2 separate regions of the Homo sapiens genome follow, and region 1 is linked to region 2. The links are contacts of gene promoters, found by promoter capture Hi-C in blood cells and fetal thymus (Javierre and others, 2016). All regions are on one chromosome and are shown on one strand. The core of a region is centred on a gene start or on the middle of the fragment in contact, and the rest is flanking DNA. Distances in the headings are between cores, read along the strand shown. Region 1 holds the start of TXNL1 (thioredoxin like 1). Region 2 holds the start of NEDD4L (NEDD4 like E3 ubiquitin protein ligase).

Region 1 (5,289 bases), core at 96-2,595, 1.4 Mb after region 2:
ATGACGTCACGCCGGGGGCCCTGCCGCGCGGTGGCTGCTGGGTGCCGCACGCCTTCCCATCCTCCTCCTCTCCCCTCCCCCATCCCTCCCCGCCCCCTCGGCCGCTCCGCTCCCTGGCGTGACTCGGCACTGAGAGTCCCGGGAGAAGACTCGGCGGTCGCCACCTCTTCTGTCCAGGCCTCGGCCTTCCTGAGCATCTCTCCTTCCTCTCCCAGATCGTCTTCTCCTTCAGTTTCAAAGCCAGTGGCGTCGCGGCCACCCTGCCGGGCTCTCTGTGAGGATGGTGGGGGTGAAGCCCGTCGGGAGCGACCCGGATTTCCAGCCAGAGCTGAGCGGCGCGGGCTCCAGACTCGCCGTGGTCAAGTTCACCATGAGAGGGTGAGGCCAGGCTCGAGCTCTGTGGGTCCCCGTCTGTCCTTCCTTGCTTTCCTTTCACTCTTTGTTGGCCCTGGTTTCCTAGCCGTCTGCTGCCCCGGAGTGTCCGGCAGTCGCCGCAGCCCCAGGAGCTGCCGGAATTAGGCCTCGTTTCTCGGGTGTGAACCCCCATTTATGCACAGGGGTTCCTAGACGGGCTCGGGGGCCTGGCTGGCCGGCTTCTCCAGCTCAGGAGATTTCTCACCTGCTCCTTTTCAATTCTTTGACAAACTGGTTTTGGGGGTGGCCCGCCCCTATTCCTTCCAGCCTGTGGGAGTCTCCGCAGCCACCCTTGCCTGAGCCTGACCCCTTCTTTCTGCAGAGCCAGCTGTCATTTGCATCTCCAGAGCTCCAAAAGCTTAATTTACCGAACACTTTGTTTCTCTTCACCACCTACATCTCTCTAAAGCCTTTGAAGATTCAGATGGGGCGATCTAACTAATATGCGTAGCTCTGAGTCCTGAATTTCTGCTAATGCATTTCGAACTAAGTTAACGTTGGGTTAGGGTGCTTTTTAAATTATTTGAACTTTTTTCTTCCTCGTTCGGCCACTAACTTGTAGCTTAGGCTCCCCTATGTATGCGATTGCAACTGGTCACACACGACAGTACATATATAATATATTTCAGGTGGACAGTTGGCCGGATGTCTTAGTTTGACCCGGCTCTGTTTTTTCACTTAAGAGGACAGGGATCTTGAAAAATGTTAACTGTCTTTGGTAAATATCAACAAAATTATAGGTCGTAGAAAAGGTGGACCTTTTATAGTGGATGTGTAGTAAAGTTCCTTTGTAAGAATGACATGTTGGAACTCGGCGTTGAGAACCAAGATTTCAGCGTGTGTGTGTGTTTCACAGATCTCTCCTTGTGTATGTCGATAGTATTTAGTTAGAAGTATGAGAGGTTTCCGCTTTATTTTCCTTGACCCCTTGGCGTTATTTATACATCTAACTTGGAGCAGTCTACTGCTGGTATCACTGTTTATGTAACACACTTTCTTGTCCAAATAACTGTATAAACACAAAATTCCATTTTGAATTTCAGAGCAAAAAACAAAGTTTCTACTAGATGGTTCACTAAATGTTGAGTATATAAATGGTGGCATTAGGATTATATCGTTTTAGGGAATGGATGCAGATAGATATGAAAACAAGTTAAGACTTATTTTTGGACCAGTCTCTCTTACACTGAATTGAAAAAGGATAGTACCTTGCATTTCATATGGTGGGCTAGAGTACCCATATGATATACGGAATTTTGCATTTACTAAATTTAAAAGGATAAGTGATGTCATATATATAAAACACCTAAAAGGAATGTTAGAATTCTATAAATGTGTCTTCTCATTTTTAGCAATTTTGTGATGTCTGTATTCTTAATAATAGGGGAATACCTGTAGTACATTAAGTATCTAGGCCACAGTAGAAAAGGGAAGATAGGATTTCAATAAGGAACCTCACCTCACTTTTAGTTCACTTATTCTAATTCTGGCCCGTCGAAGCTTTTATATTTTTGTCCCTCAATGATATATTGTTTTTCTCCCTTACCATAGCAGTGGGAGAGATAATAAAATAATAAATAAATATTGATTGAAGTGAGAAAACTGGGGAAACATTGCTGCGAAGGAAGGTTTTTTCTATCAGTGTGGTGTCACTTAAGCATAAGCATAACTGCAGACATTGATTGGTAAGGAACTGTTACATTTAAAAAGGTATTTTAGTGGAATTAAAATTTTTTTTCTTTGTAAAAACCGAGGGAAAATTAATGTTTGGATTTAGAGTAAGTTCAAAAGCATATTTATATTACGTTTACAAATCTGGTAAGATTATTGTATTTACCTTTAATATTCCTCGAACTTATTGGCCATTAATACATCCTGTCTAAACTCATTGTCAATAGAACCCCAGAATTATGTATATGACGGGTCAGTATTAGACTCAGAAACAACTGTATTCAGTAAAATCTTGTAAGAATCCTCTTAGATCAAAGTTAATGCTGTCCCAGTTTAGACTGAGGGCATAGTTTCTCCAGCACCTATTTCATTTCCTTTCCAACCCTATTTTAAACCTTTTTTCTTTTTTTTTAACCTCTATGCTTTATGCACTCTCAGTCTAAATTTTACTAAAATGATACATAGATTGTTCTCCTGTGTAAGAATCTTTAGTGGCTTATGATAAAATATATATAACATAAAATTGACCATTTAGCCATTTGTAAGAGTATAATTCATTGGCATTAAGGACAGTCAGCCCTCTGTATCCATGGATTGAACCAAATGTGGATAGAAAATATTTGGAGAAAAAAAATTGCATTTGTGCTGATCATGTACACACTTTTTTCTTGTCATTATTTTCTAAACAATACAGTATAACAACTATTTACATAGCATTTACCTTAGGCATTATAAGTAATCTAGAGATGATTTAAAGTATATGGGAGAATGGTCGTAGGTTATGTGCAGATACCATGTCATTTTCTATTAGGCCCTTGAGCATCTGTGATTTAGTGTCTTGCTGGAGGTCCTGAAACTAATCCCCCAGATACCCAGACATGACTATACAGTCACAATGTTGTGCCACCATCACCACTGTTTCCTATAACTTTAGACAGAAATTCTATATCCATTAAAGGATAACTCCCCATCCTTACTTCTCCAAAGGGACAAAACTGTACCCATTAAGCAGTAATTTGCCCCTCCCCATCTACCTCCTTGGTAACTTCTATTCTGCTTTCTGTCTCTATGAATTTGTCAATTTGTGGCACCTAATATAAGTGAAATCGTAACAATATTTGTCCTTTTGTTTTTGACTTCACTTAGCATAGTATTTTCAAGGTTCATCCATGTCTTAGTATGTCTCAGAATTTCATTCTTCTTTATAACTGCATAACATAATCCATTTATTTATATGGCAAATTTTGTATACCTGTTCATTTTTTGATGGACATTCCAGTTGTGTCTTCCTTTGGCTGTTGTGGATAATGCTGCTAGGGGACATTGCTATGCGGGGATCCCTGCTTACTTGCTTGCTTTTCTTTTTTCTTATTTGTTAGAGACAGGGTCTTGCTCTGTTGCCCAGGCTGGAGTGCAGTTTTGAGACGATGGCTCACTGCAGCATTGAATTCCTGGCCTCAAGCAATCCTCCCACATCAGCCTCTCAAGTAAATGGGACTACAGACACATACCACCATGCCCGCTAATTTATTTTTTGTTTTAGAGACTAAGTCTCACTTTGTTGCCCAGGCTGGTCTAAATCCTGGCTTCAAGCGACCCTCCCACGTCAGCATCCCAAATTGCTGGGGTTACAGGTGTGAGTCACTGCGCTGGGCCTTCTGTGCCCATTTTTGAATTGAGTGGTTTGTTTTTGGGTTGAGTTGCAGGAGTTCTTTATATATGCCGGATGTTAATATTTAATTTGCAAATACTTTGTCCCATTCTTTGGGTTGTCTTTTTCTTGATGGTGTCCTTTGATGCATGAGTTTTAAATTTTGATGAAGTCCAATTTATCTATACTTTTGTTGCCTGTGCTTTTGGTGTCATATTCAAGAAATCATTGCAAGATTCAATGTCATGAAGATTTCTCCCTATGTTTTCATCTAAGAGTTTTATAGTTTTAGCTCTTAAGTTTAGGTCCTTGATCCATTTTGAGTTAATTTTGGTATATGTCATAAAGTTAGGGTCCAGTTCATTTTTTGGCATGTGGATATCCAATTTTTCCAACACCGTTTATCGAAAACACTGTCTTTTCCTCATTGAATGATCAGCACCCTTTTCCCAGAGTATTTTTTAAGGATTAAAATAGTCAACGCTTACATATTCCTTAGTCTGTGTAAGGAACTTGTTTAAGCTCTTATATTGACTCAATTCATTCCTCAGAATAACCCTAACAGCTATCCTTGTTTTACAGTTGAGGACATTGAGTCACAGAGAGGTTAAATAATTTGTTTAAGGTCCCGTTAATAAATGCATCGTTTGAATTATAAAGTGCTGTTCTTGATCTTTCCAGCCTAAGGAGAAAAGAAATGCACGTTCATCTCTGTGTATCTGCACAGAGCCTGACAATTTTCAATATGCCTTTCCTTAAATAATTTACACCTCTGCCTGCAATTCATTTCACTCTCTGATATTCTTTTTGGTAATATTTTTAAACAGTGTCTCCAAATTGTTACTTATGCCCAGATACATTTTAGTGGTTATGAGTAGTACCAGTTTTGTTGTTACTAAAGAGTTAAAAGAATATACATTGTGTCGTTCGTTGTCCCTGGTCTCCCCCCTCCCCACCATTAAACAGTGTGAATGATTTTTTTTTTTTTTTTTTTTTTTTTTGAGATGGAGTCTTGCTCTGTCATCCAGGCTGGAGTGCAGTGGCATGATCTCAGCTCACTGCAACCTCTGCCTCCCAGGTTCAAGCAATTCTCCTGCCTCAGCCTCCTGAGGAGCTGGGATTACAGGTATGCGCCACCACACATGGCTAATTTTTGTATTTTTAGTAGAGACGGGGTTTCACCATGTTGGTCAGGCTGGTCTCGAACTCCTGACCTCGTGATCTGCCCGCCTCGGCCTCTCAAAGTGCTGGGATTACAGGTGTGAGCCACCACACCCAGCCAATGGTTTTTATCTTGAATTGATGAATGTATCACTTTTGTAGATAATGTTTACCATGCACTGATTTTTTTTTTTTTTTTTTTTTGAGACAGGGTCTCGCTCTGTTGCTCAGGCTGCAGTACAGTGATGTGATCATGGCTCAATTGCAGCCTCGACCTCCTGGGCTCAAGCAATCCTCCCAACTCAGCCCCAGCAGTAATCGGAACTACAGGCACGCACCACTATGCCTGGCTAATTTTTTTTTTTTTTTTTTTTTTTGAGACAGAGTCTCGC
Region 2 (6,529 bases), core at 1,283-3,782:
CCAAATTCCCTTCTAGCAACATGCAGGAGTGAATCCAGTCACATGCCAACACACACTCGGACTCTGTTTACATTCCAAGCTTCACTTTCACACTAGACATCAGTTATGATGATTAGTAGTGACTCCTGTGGACAAAAGTGGCAAGATGTGCTCTAGGTAGATTCTGACACTCACTGCCAATGTAAATAAAGCACAAACAACAGTGACATTAACGTGTTTCATTTATCCAGCTGCACTTCCCAAAACACTCTTAAAATCGTTTTTTCGGGGGAGTTTTTACAAATAATCATGTTATTAAAACATTTTTTAAAAGAACCTAGGATGAAATGCAGCTGTCCTCACCCCCACCCCCCACAATACGTCAACCCAAGCAGCCCCTTTGTTTAGGAATGTCTGCGTCTCTGCAACTCAGGGCCTGCCCTCTACTGCCACTAATTAAATGGAGAAGTAGAGGATGCAAGGGAAAGCTCCTCAAAGAGAGAAGCCAGGAGGGAGAGGAGAAGCCCCCCGGGTCAATGAAACAATGCTACTGTCACCTATCCCCAGGTAGTTACACAAAACGGGAAATTATTTTACAAAAGCACAGCGAGGCAAAATAAACACACAAATCACACATTATTTGCACTGTGATCATTCTTTGATCAAATAAATACATCAAGCTTTGCCTAGCACCGCTAAGAAAAAAATTCATACCCTAAACACCCTTCCCACCCCAAAATACCTTTCATTCCACACTTACGTAGCACACAGGCACACACACACACCATGCCAGGGTAGGAGAGCCGCAGAAAGCGGAGCCATAACGCGAGCCTGTCTCAGATAATAGCCTTTCTTCCAACCCCACCCCCAACACGAGAGAAAGAGGGAACCTCTGAAAAGAAAGGAGGGAGGGGAAGAAAGAGAAATCGAGAACGCCTGAATTTCCAGGCATCAACTTTTCATGAAATGCACAACCAGGATAGGAAATACCTCCCTGCTGAGTAATGCTTCTTGGGTTGTAAAATTCACCTCTCGAAAGGGGAGCCAGACCTGAGCGCGCACCCCGCCAGATGGCAAACCACTCCTACCTGCTCCATCCAGCCTGCCTGTCACGCCGCGCCCGCGACAAGCGTCCCACCCCCCTTTTTGGCAGAGCAACATACCAATAAGAGCCGAGCGTGGCTGGTCGAGAGAGGACTAGGCAGTGATTTAGCAGGATTGTTTCAAAAGGGGGGAGTGGGAGACACGGAAGAGAGAATGAAGGTAAAAACAAAGCCCTTTCCAGTGAAACCGACCGCCTGGGAGGCGTGGCTTATTCAGTCGCTTTATTAATAAAAGAGATCAATTAAGCTTTCCTCTCCCCACCCACCCTGGAGGTGCCGGGCTTTGAATCCTCGGGAGGAAAAAATGGCAGGGCTGCAAGCTTCCTCCCCAAGTTTCCAGGAGCACCTGCCACCAGCCTTGAACACCTCCCCCACCGAGGCTCCGAAATCCACAATCCTGGCCGTAGACTTTGCAAAACGAGGGGAGGGACACACGCAGCGTGTCCCCCATTCCCGCCGGGATAAGCACGCACAGGCTTCTGAGCGCCTGCTGATCCACACAATCATGAGAGAGAAAGTTCCAGGGGGAAACGATCCGGCTTCTCCGCAGTCCCGGGTCTCCAGCCGCGCGACCCAGACGTGACATGCATCATGGACTCCCGGGCTGCAGGGGCGAGAGGCGGAAAGTTGCCCAACAGCCCCGGGAGACGCTGCTTGGAGAGGAAGAGGGAAGAGAGGCACGCATGCCCCCTCCCTCTCCTCCCGAAAGCGAGGAGCTGCGGAGTGAACCCCCAGCTCCAAGGGCGTCGCGCCGCTTTATTTACAAACAATGAGCTCGGCTTGCGGAGGGTGGGGGGTGCGGAAGGACCCAAGCTCCCCTGGATCCCGCTCCGGGGCGCTCCCGCTTTGGGGCTCCCCTGCAGACGCTGGGCACGAGCACCCCGGGGACGGCCCCTTTCCCCTCCCCCTGCCGGCGCGGGATAGGAACTCCCCGGGGAGTCCCGAGCAGGAAGGGGGTGCCACTCACCTCGTCTTCGGAAAGTCCATAGACCGGCTCCCCGAGCCCGGTCGCCATGGAGCCGGCGCCCCGCGCGGGGTCTGAGGCGCTCCCAGCGGCTGTGCTGCGGCGCGGACGGCCGGTTCTCCCCTCTGCCTCCAGGTCCCCCCGGTCCCGCACCCTACCCTGCGCACGCCCTGCCGGGTAAGCGGCCGGGCGCCGGCAGGTGAGGGTGCCCGAGAGCGCGCCCTGGACGCTGCCGGCACCGCTTCCTCCCGGAAGGCTGCGGGACCAGCGGGCGGGCGGCTCCCGAGAGCGCGCCGAGCACCGGGCGGCAGCCCCGGCGCCTCTCACTGCGCGCGGCGGCGGCGCAGACCCGGCCGGGCTTTCCCTCCCCGCGACCCGCGCCTCCCTCCCGCCCCGCCGCTCTCCGCCCCCCTCCGAGCCTCCTCTGCGCTCCCGGGGACCCGGCTCGCCCGCCTCCTCGCTAGCGCCGTCCGGGCCCCCGCTCTCTCCGCCCCCTCCTCCGCCTCCTCCCACCGGCGCCGCGAGGGTACCCTCCCCGTTCGCCGGGGCGGGCACACGCGCCCCCCAAGCCAATCACAGGCCGGGCTGGCGAGCGGGCCGCGGGCTGCGGGGGTGGCGGAGTTCAGCCCCACGCCCACCCCGGCCCGGGGCCTCCAGCGCGGCGCGGCGGGGGTCACCCGGCCGCGGGGCGGATCCGCAGGGGCGTGTACTGGCGCGCTTGGCCGGCGCCGCCGACCCTCCCTCCTCTCCCGGTTTCCCTCCGCTTTAGGGAGGGGGCGGGCTGGACGTTTGGGGGCGATAGAGGATTTTGCGAACAATAACAAAAACGCCCTGAGCGTTTCTTCCTCCCGGTGGTCTTTTTACCGAGAGCCCTGAGCTCGCTGTTAACTGTGAAAAGGGGAAAAGATGGATGTTTCTAGACCCCTTTAAATTCTTTGCGGCCCCGACGAGCAGGACTTGGCTACATTGTCAGCTCCCGGGAGCGAGCCGCCCGGCCCGGCTGCCAGCCGAGGAGAGGCTGCCCCAGTGTGGCCGCAAGTCGCCATTGCCTGTGTCAACCTTGCAGGGAACAAAACCAACATAGCGCCCGCCCCGGTTACACACCCACCCACGCGAAAACAGACAGCATGGTTCTTTGAATAAAAAGCAGTTCATTTGTGAGCCGCAACGTGAAATATCAAACTCAAGCTTAAGGTTATCCTTTGCATATGCAAATGATCGAGACGTCTTATTAGCCACCGTAGGATTCTTCCCACCACCCAGCTACCGTTTCTCTAGCAAGCAGTTCATTTAATCCTTCCGATTTATAGGACTGCAAGAGACTACTTTAAATAAGTGAAAGAAATTCGTCAGTCGACTTTTTCGGAAGCCTTTCCTTAAATTTAGATGTTAAGTGCAGTTGGGAGTTCAAAAAGAAAACAGACGCAGAACATTCCATTTGCCTTTGAAAAGGAAACGTCAAAGTGCCTACTTGGGTATTACCAGGATGCATTTAGGATTTTCATTCAAGGAAGTTCAGAGAGAACTCGCGTGACCCGAAGGAATCATATTCCTCGTTGCCAGCTACATAACTAAATATCTGCTGTTCGCCCTGCTAGTTCGTTTTCAAAAGAGCCCACCCATGCTACCTTAAGCTCTCCTTTGCCTTCCTGCAGCATGACTGGCTTAAAACCTGTGCCGTAGAATGGGTTTCCTTTGACGACTTAGCCCCATGGAGTCAACATCCTACTCAGAAGCCTTCTCTAGAAGTCTTGAGCCGTCAAGTCCACAGTACTTACAGGCCACAAAACCCCCAATGAGAACTATTTATGGAGGACTATTTAAAAGTCAGATTTCTGTCCATTCTTTCAATACTGAGGTTTTTCAACCCTTTCAAACCTCGAGTCTTTAGACCGGGCACGGTGGCTCAAACCTGTAATCCCAGCACTTTGGGAGGCTGAGGCGGGCGGATCATAAGATCGGTAGTTCAAGACCAGCTGGCCAATGTGGTGAAACTCCATCTCTACTAAAAATACAAAAATTACCCAGGCGTGGTGGCGGGCGCCTGTAATCCCAGCTACTCGGGGAGGCTGAGGCATGAGGATCCCTTGAACCTGGGAGGCGGAGGTTGCAGTGAGCCGAGACTGCGCCACTGCACTCCAGCCTGGACCACAGAGCGAGACTCCGTCTCAAAAAAAACAAAAACAAAAAAAAACAACCCTAAAGTCTTTTGATAAACAAAAGGTACACGTGCACACTCTGTCTTTCTCTCTCTCTCTCTCACACACACACACACACACACACACGCATTCTCAGATGCCCTTGCCCTAGCCTGTGACCCTCATGGATGGGAGTCAGTGCTTCTCTACCTACCCTCACTAGCCAAACCTTTGTAAAATTTGTACAGTTTATATTATAAAGGAAGAAAAGTAATTGAATAATAATGCTAGCATTTTGGGAGGCAGAGGCAGGAGGATCATTTGAGGCCAGGAGTTCGAGACCAGCCTGGGCAATATAGAGAGACCCCTGTCCCTACAAAAAAAAAAAAAAATTAAAAATTTGCCAGGTGTGGTGGCATGGGCCCATAGTCCTAGCTACTCAGGAGGCTAAGACTAGAGGTTCACTTGAGCCCAGAAGTTCAAGGTTACAGTGAGCTATGATCGTGCCATTGCACTCCAGCCTGGATGACAGAGAAAGACCCTGTGTCTCTAAATAAATAAATACATAAATAAATAATTCTTAAAATGTGCTGATAGAAAATTATAATTTCTAATTACACAGGACACGCCTTCCACATCCTGGAGGTACACAATTCCAGGCTTCGCCTTTGGGTAAGGCTATGTTATCTGGAAACTGTAGAGGGGTGTGGCAGTTTCTCTTCCTGTCTTTTATCATCTACTCCCACACACCCACCGCAACAGCCTATAGCCCTGCACTCAGGGTCATGTCCTTGTCTTTCCCTGAGGGATGGTTATTAGGAACTATAATATGAAACTTGCCATATGTCACTTATTGTGGGGTGTTTATAAAATCGTGATCCATGACATCAACATCCTCTGTGAGAAGACTAATAAACTAGACATTTATTTCAGATCTATGAAGAAAAGCTCTTTTGCTTTCAAGAAACTGGTAAGCTTTTGCATGGCAGATGACCAAAATTATTAAAACCGACTGTGTTTTTCTATCTACTTTGGCCACCAGGAAGCTCAGAACCAGTTTCATGGTCTTAAGCCATAAAAGAACCCATTAAAAAAAATCCCTTTTGTAACTATATACCAACTTTCCCCCAGTGCTGTGGTTCTCTACTCAGCATGTACATTGCAATCACCTGGGGAGCTTTCAAATAGACTAAGTGCCCGGTAACCAGCATCAGAGGCTATGATTTAATGGATTCTGACATCAGTAGTTTCAACAGCCTCCCAGGTGATGCTAATGTGCATTTAAGGCTGAGAACATCAGCTTAGTTTCCAAATTTTGCTATACATAGAAACATTTGGGAATTTTTACTACTGCTCCTCTCTGCCTCCCACTCCCAGGCGTTATGATTTAATTAGTACAGGGTGCCACATGGGCATCAGGAGCTTTAAAAGTTCCCCAGGTGATCCTAATGCACCACTGCCAAGTTTAGAGACATCTGGCCTAGATTTATATTACTATTCTTTTTTTTTTTCTTTTTCTTTTCCTTTTCCCCGAGAGACAAGTTCTTGCTCTGTTGTCCAGACTGGAGAACAGTGGCATGATCACAGCACACTGTACCCTCAAACTCCAGGACTCAAGTGATCCTCCCACCTCAGCCTCCCAAGTAGCTGGGACTACAGGAGCACACCATTGTACCGGCTAAGGTTTTTTGTTTTTTGTAGAGATGGGGTCTCCCTTGCCCAGGCTGGTCTCGAATTCTAGGCTTCAAGTGATCCTCCCACCTTGGCCTCCCAAAGTGTTAGGATTACAGGCATGAGCTACTGAGCCCAGCCTATATGCCTTTTCTTTATATATTTTCCACCACTCTGTTTTTTCATTCGTTTTTTTTCAACTTAGAGGAAATTGCATGTTATAAACACACTCAAATCTTTTGTGGAGTGAGGTAGAATATAAACAAACATACTTAGAAGACTAGCATCATCAATCAGTTTACCCATCATCTACTCTGAAGTCTCAGATTAGTAATCCAATTTCTTTTCTTTCTTTCTTTTTTTTTTTTTTTTTTTTTGAGATGGAGTCTCGCTCTGCTGCCCAGGCTGGAGTGCAGTGGCGTGATCTCGGCTCACTGCAAGCTCCGCCTCCTGGGTTCACGGCATTCTCCTGCCTCAGCCTCCCAAGCAGCTGGGACTACAGGCGCCCGCCACCACGCCCGGCTAATTTTTTGTATTTTTAGTAGAGACGGGGTTTCACCTTGTTAGTCAGGATGGTCTCGATCTCCTGACCTCGTGATCCACCTGCCTCGGCCTCCCAAAGTGCTGGGATTACAGACATGAGCCACCTAGCCCAACCTAGTAATCCAATTTCT

What was found. Contacts are between HindIII fragments. The CHiCAGO score rates a contact against its expected background, and 5 or more counts as called.
Region 1: a fragment that was not itself captured here is called in contact with the fragment with the promoter of NEDD4L in region 2 in 2 of 17 cell types (activated CD4 T cells and fetal thymus); the score reaches 5.9 in activated CD4 T cells.

Annotation. Positions count from the first base shown.
Region 1 is chr18:56,633,432-56,638,720 of GRCh38, reverse strand. It overlaps TXNL1 (thioredoxin like 1), which reads left to right and starts at 129. Exons shown (of 8, transcript NM_004786.3): 1 at 129-378. The coding sequence starts at 281. RefSeq lists enhancers at 1-91, 251-310, 92-1,077 and a silencer at 1-100. The HindIII fragment of the contact is 1,142 bases long and covers 775-1,916 here.
Region 2 is chr18:58,040,229-58,046,757 of GRCh38, reverse strand. It overlaps NEDD4L (NEDD4 like E3 ubiquitin protein ligase), which reads right to left and starts at 2,532. Exons shown (of 31, transcript NM_001144967.3): 1 at 2,050-2,532. The coding sequence starts at 2,097. RefSeq lists silencers at 1,898-2,447, 2,468-2,837 and a cis regulatory region at 4,727-5,139. The HindIII fragment of the contact is 1,832 bases long and covers 1,405-3,236 here.